Linked DNA regions of Homo sapiens: region 2 is linked to region 1. Evidence: promoter capture Hi-C in 16 types of primary human blood cells and fetal thymus (Javierre and others, 2016). All regions are on one chromosome and are shown on one strand. The core of a region is centred on a gene start or on the middle of the fragment in contact, and the rest is flanking DNA. Distances in the headings are between cores, read along the strand shown.

Region 1 (3,244 bases), core at 197-2,696:
TCTCTGGGACTCTGAAAAGATGGGAGGGTGAGGAAGTCAGCAGAGGCCTGGTTCCTGTGGGAGAGAAGTCTCACAACACCAGAAAATCCACCTCGGCAGGAATACTTTCCATTCTGTCCTTCTATAGTGAACTGTTTTGCTCAGTATCAAGTGCTCTTTTCCTGGTATGAATTTTCACATTACCATAAAATTCACAGCAATTAAGTTAAAGTAAACATGGCTTGCTGTCCATGCTCTAACAAAAGGCCAGAAAAGTCATTCAATTAAACCTGGTGGGGACCTGAAAGTAACTGGTTTGTGACCATCAGCTTGTTTGCCAGCTTTCCCTTCATTAAACACTGAATTATTTAGGTGGAATATCATCTAAAGCCCAAGCCTAGTGCTTGAAAGCTTTTTTTTACAGGGCATTTCCATGGAGAATAAAATCATGGAGTTCTTCTTCAGCCTAAAGATGTGTGGTCATCTTTGCAAATGGGCAAATGGGTTGTCATAAAACATGCAGTAATTGTAAACCCTAAGTGGCTTCTACTTCCTGCTGTTAAGAGCAAATTTGACACAAAGCTTTTGTACCTTTCCTTGCATGGTCTTCGTTACTGGACAAGGATTTAGTAGTTTCTTTACCATGTCAAAACCAGTGTGGCAAAGGGCACATGTCGGAGCCCTTTACTTGGTGTTTTCTGAGTTCCATCGTGCTTAAAGCAGTGCCCTCCCCCTGTCTGTCGGGACCTGCCTCCTCCCACCTCCATCACATCCACTCTCAAAAATCACAAGCATTCCACAGGTCCATTGGACTCTTTAGTCAGGCAATCATGAACTTCCAGTTACCAATGCCTTGCTTTTAAAGACCAAATTGACAGTATATGCTAGAGGTTTTCTTTTCTTTATTTTTCTTTCTTTTCTTTTTTTTTTTTTTTTTAAATCAAGCTGCTATAGATGCTTTCTGGCTGACTGAAAGGAAAGAGAATCTCTGGTAACTGCTGAAACTTGTAGAGGTTTCTCTTAGTAGCCCATTTTAGAAAGCAGTAAGAGTGCTTGCTGCGTTGTCTTCTCTATGCTGTGTCCTGCCGATTGCATGGAATGTTCTTTAGGGTTTTCAACACACAGCTAGAAGCCCACAGCCGCACAGAAAAAAGGAAGTTGTTAGCTTACCTTTATGACAGCTATAACGATTTTGGAGTCCCCAGCCTGCACAGCAACTGAACTGACTGTCGTCGTAGAAAGCGCAACACTAGGACTTCCTTGGCTGGACATGGTACTTTAGAACCAGAGTTTATACTTTGGGCAGCCTCTGGACAGTTGTGTGTCTGCTGGTCATTTCAGAAGGCCAGGGTTACTTGGATTCATTCAGGGAAAGAGCTCAGCTCACACTGATTACTCTGCCAAAAGGAAAGAACAGGAGGTTAAAAATAGACAACCCCATTGAGTTTATCGTGAGAGAGAAAGGAGCGAACGAGAGAGAATTGCCACGCCCCTAGTATGGTGACACTAAGTGCCTGTTATTTTTGCTGTTATCTTAAATGTGGAGGACAGCTTCAAGCTCTTTCCTTATCAGCTGATGTTTGATAACAAATGGAAAAAAAAATTACATCCTGACAACCCAAATTAGTTTTGCCACCGAAACTATGCCATTGTAACCATGGACTTTGAAACAAGTAAGTCTTTGACCTGGTTATCAATCTTTTCAAGATTTTTGAAATCTCTCTGATGCAAAGAGAACTACCAAAGTGTACTTTAAAAAAGTTTTGGTATTTGTCTTGGGGTTAAGTCACAAATTGCTTAAAACACATTTTTAGATTAATCTGCTTTTCTAAAACTTACTGTTCTTTGCTAAATGAAGTTTAGATGGAATAGCCACATTTTCTCAGAGCCTCAGATTTCTTAGGAATTTTTAAAAAATATTTCAACCAGCATTTATAAATAGGTGCCTATCATTTCAGATTTTCTTTGTGACTATTCTGCTCCATTGGACAAGGTTTTCAAGTTCAGTTATTAATACCATGAGAAAGCAAAATACTTTGCTGTTACCTTTTAATTGCAGCAAGAAAATGTTTTCTGTGTGGTTAAAAGTTATTAAGACATATATTTTGCTGCAATTAAAAACAAAAACAAAAAGGAAAGTACTGTGCTTCAGGCTTTTTATTCCCTACCCCCACCTCCTGTTCAGGAAAATTATAGCCAGCTTCAAATCAGTGCCCCACATTGGTAGATTAATCCTATTGCTAGAAACTCAGCCTGTGTCACAAGTTGTCTGTGGTATTAAACAGCAGCTGTTGGATTCCCTGTCAAAGAACAGCTGAAAATAACACTAAAGTTTAGGTCAGAAGTCAGATGCAAACATATCAGAGTTACTAACTCCAAAGCTGCTGGAAGCATTGGAAATCTCTGGGACAAAGCCACAACAGAGAATATAGCAAAAAACAGTTTTAATGAATCCACTTGCTCTGTAAACCTTTTAGCCCAATTTAATAGTAGGTTCAGGTTCAGGGCCAATGTTTAGAAGACTGAGTCAGCTCCATTGCTTTGTTTTGCTAAGGTTCATGATCATATTCTTGATTCAAAGGGGAAAAGTACTTTTACACATACTTCAGTGTTCAATTATTTTTGTTTCCAAGAGCATGTCATGGCTGCTCTGCAGCTGTGTAGCCACCACCCATGTCCTCTGCGCTCAGCATCTGCCTGCTGCCCCAGTGAGATGGAAACCATACCTAGATCCTAGTCCCTATGCAACACGAACTTCACCTGACCCCATGAAGGGAACAATTGGAGCGAGCTCAGGAAAGCAGATGCCGAGCAAGCTATGATGTAGCAACTATTGCAAATGGTTTCATTTTATGGCAGGGCTGGAGAGCTTGCAAAGAGGTAACTGACCTGGAAGGTTGCAGGCAGGCTCCTTCTTTCACTTGCATCTGTGTGAAGAGACCACCAAACAGGCTTTGTGTGAGCAATAAAGCTGTTTATTTCACCTGGGTGCAGGTGGGCTGAGTCTGAGAAGAGAGTCAGCGAAAGGAGATAGGGGTGGGGCCGTTTTATGGGATTTGGGTAAGTAAAGGAAAAAGGGGGGTTGTTCTCTGGCAGGCAGGAGTGGGGGGGTCACAAGGTGCTCAGTAGGGGAGCTTTTGAGCCAGGATGAGCCAGGAGAAGGAATTTCACAAGATAATGCCATCAGTTAAGGCAGGAACAGGCTATTTTCATTTCTTTTGTGGTGGAATGTCATCAGTTAAGGCAGGAACTGGCCATCTGGATG
Region 2 (3,244 bases), core at 297-2,796, 68 kb after region 1:
TGGCTGAGGCATGAGAATCGCCTGAACCTGGGAGGCAGAGGTTGCAGTGAGCTGAGATTGCATCATTGCAGTCCAGCCTGGGCAACAGAGGAAGACTGTGTCTTAAAAAAAAAAAAAAAGACACTTTTCACCACAAAAAAGTTCTGTATTATTATGCTAACACTAGTGTGATGCAGAAAGTGAGGTTTCTTATTTACTGATATTAACATCCATTTCATATTAACTTCTGTGGATGAACAGTTGGATTGCCTTAAAAATGCCGTAATACATAGCATAAATCAGAGGGACCATGCAGAACATGTATTCAGGGAAACGTAAACCCTCTCAAGTTTATGCAGGCTAGTTTTGATGCACCAGCTGACATTTTCTTAATTCTGTGACACTTCTGGAATAACAAAACTAACCTTCTTGTACTTGGAAGGTAAAGTTACATTATAATCATGCAGAAAGCTATTCAAACACTGAGCTTGTGGAAAAGGAAGATAACCAGTTTTGCACCTGTGCAACATCAACAAATTTTCTATGCTTTTCCAGCAAAACTTTCGTTTCTTGAGCATCATCGCCCAATCTGATGTGAGTCTTAAGCAGAGCATCCAGAAGTTCACTTAGCCATTCTACTGCCTAAACAAAAAGACATAACAATGAAGCTGGATTCAGAACTCTTTACTTATTGTATCAAAATGTCATTTATACAGAGATTACTATCATGTGATTAATAAATCCGTTAATTATAACCTAAAGTCTTAAAAGCTTATTTCATTCAATGATAAGCTACATGAATTAATGACCTGTCCTACTCCTCAAAATTCTTTAAATCTGAAGGCAAGACATACTGAAGAAAAGCATTCTTTTAAAATTAATATCACATAATAAAAGATCATGTATTTCTGTATGTAGATCCATCAGGATTGCATTACAGATTTGTGTTACTACATAAAATCAAAAATTTTATCTATATCTAACTGAAATGATGTTCTCTGATGATAACGACAAAATATATCAAATTGTTTATCTGGTATTGAAATTTCTCTTGCAGATGCAAGAGAGCAAAATGCAGTGTGCTCCACCAGATTTTATCCTGGATGTAACTGACAACCTAATCAACAATAATAAATAATAAACGATCCCAATCTCTAGCTCAATAGAGGATTATAGAGGATTTCATTGAGAAAATTAAGTTAAATGAGATCAATCAACTAGCTGGGAATACCAAAGTGTATTCTTCAACAAGATAGATAAACTAGAACCTGACTTCAAGAATTTACTTTTTTAGGACCATGAAAAGTACACTTTTGTTTGTAGTTAGATAAAATCAATCTTCTAAGAAAAGTTAACTACATAATGTAGCTGACTGCTCCTTACCTGGGCAGCATCTTCTTCACATTTAAACAACTGCACCATCTGAAGCATCTTTAACCTTCGCACATCTACCATGTCTTCACATCTAATGAACCCAAACATAAATTTAACTCATCATTTCTGTTTTATTGATTACTATTGTAACATCATCATTTGGTACATGTATTTTATAGTACACTAAAATACTTAGTCCTAAACAATGGAGAATGCAAGTATTTTGTATTGATTTGTAAGAATTTTAGGGATATTTATATCAATGTTACATCAAAACATCAAAATACCCAAATGATACTCAATGACAAACCCTCTTAAAGATAGCATGGATTCTGCAAAATATTAAAGCAAAATGTAAGGACAATAGTACACTAAAACCCAAAAAAAATCTCCATTGCTGTTTAGCATCAAACAAGTTTCAAGGATAAAAGTGTAATGTTTCTCAAATACAGGATGATATTTTTTTGAGACAAGGTCTCACTCAAGCACCTAGGCTGGAGTGCAGTGGTACCATCATAGCTCACTATAACCTCAAACTCCTGGGCTTAAATGATCTTCACATCCCAGCCTCCCAAGTAGCTAAGACTACAGGTGTGCATCACTATGCCCAGCTAAAGAAACATTTAAACATTAACGCTTTTCATTATATTATAGTACCTAAAATAATATTTAATTCTGATTTTTTTTAAAACCCTCCATCTACATTCTTAAAAACTAGATGGAGGGCTTAAAAAAACAAAAAAACTCTACTGACCTCTGGGTGTAGAGAAACACAATTCAAATTATTTTTTTAATCTCATTGTGGTCTTTTTGGATAATATAACCATTTAAATTTTTAAGGCAACTTAACCTAACTTAACTCTGGTCCATTTCCTTCATTTCCATGAAATTCTGCGTACTGCAGGTGGGATGGGGGACTCCCACTGCAGTCTCAAATACCGATAATATGTTACCAGACACTGTGCTCTACTATACTTGATGTCCTTAAAGAAAGCTTAATAACAATATAGAAGTAGGTATCACAAGGCTTTTTTTTAAAAAAAAATAAAGATGCTCTGAATAAAAGCTATAACATGACATTAAAATTCAACTTGGTTAAAGTAATTCTACAATGGACTGAAGGGAAGTGATAATTATTTTTTAAATATGAAACTAAAAAACAATGTAGGCCACTTTGATGAAGATGGTATCATACATATACTGTATTCAGGTATTAGATAATGTGTGCTGGGGAAAATATAAGATATGGTCTCTACTATCAAGATGCTCCCATTTGCAGAGATGTTATAAGTACTATTATAAAGCTATTTAAAATGTTTTATGAGAGTAGGGAGGAGCAAGTGACTAACTTGCCTTAGAAGTCCAAAAAGGCTTCCTAAAGTAAAGTAAGTATCCCTGAGTCTTGAAGAGTAAGTAGGAATTCACTGAGCAGAAAACAAGGAAACAAGTATTCTTAGTCATGGATGCATGAAACAGCATGATGCTTTCAGGGAGATAAAAACAACTGTGTGATTTTATGGGAATGTTATAGAAGATAAAATTATGCAAGAATTGGATTATGAAGGGTCTCCTACATTATTCCAAGAAGACAAACTCCATCTGAGCAAACAGGAAGTCACTGAAGGAAGTTTTACACAATTGTTGTACTTTATGAAAATTACACTTATATACAAAAAGCTGGAGAGTAGCCAGGCCAGAGGCAGATAAGAGTTTAAGATCTTGACCATAAATGTTTGAGATTCAGAGACAGCAGAACCTGGACATTTGATTAAGCTATAAGGGATGAGAAAGATGAAGGATTTTAGGATAAATCTCAAGTTTGGTAGCTGATGGTAACTTTAACCTAGGCAGGAAATTAAAAAAGGAGAGCAAGTTTTAGAGGAAAATGATT

Evidence for each region. Contacts are between HindIII fragments. The CHiCAGO score rates a contact against its expected background, and 5 or more counts as called.
Region 2: a fragment that was not itself captured here is called in contact with the fragment with the promoter of CCDC141 in region 1 in 2 of 17 cell types (total B cells and non-activated CD4 T cells); the score reaches 5.6 in total B cells.

What each region holds. Positions count from the first base shown.
Region 1 is chr2:179,048,691-179,051,934 of GRCh38, forward strand. CCDC141 (coiled-coil domain containing 141) reads right to left here and starts at 1,447. Exons shown (of 24, transcript NM_173648.4): 1 at 1,150-1,447. The coding sequence starts at 1,251. RefSeq lists enhancers at 944-993, 1,184-1,433, 1,444-1,523. The HindIII fragment of the contact is 6,980 bases long and covers 560-3,244 here.
Region 2 is chr2:179,116,170-179,119,413 of GRCh38, forward strand. It overlaps SESTD1 (SEC14 and spectrin domain containing 1), which reads right to left. Exons shown (of 18, transcript NM_178123.5): 14 at 1,363-1,444; 15 at 499-621. Among named protein-coding and RNA genes, the nearest start is that of CCDC141, 68 kb to the left of the region's middle. RefSeq lists an enhancer at 2,514-2,683. The HindIII fragment of the contact is 1,597 bases long and covers 749-2,345 here.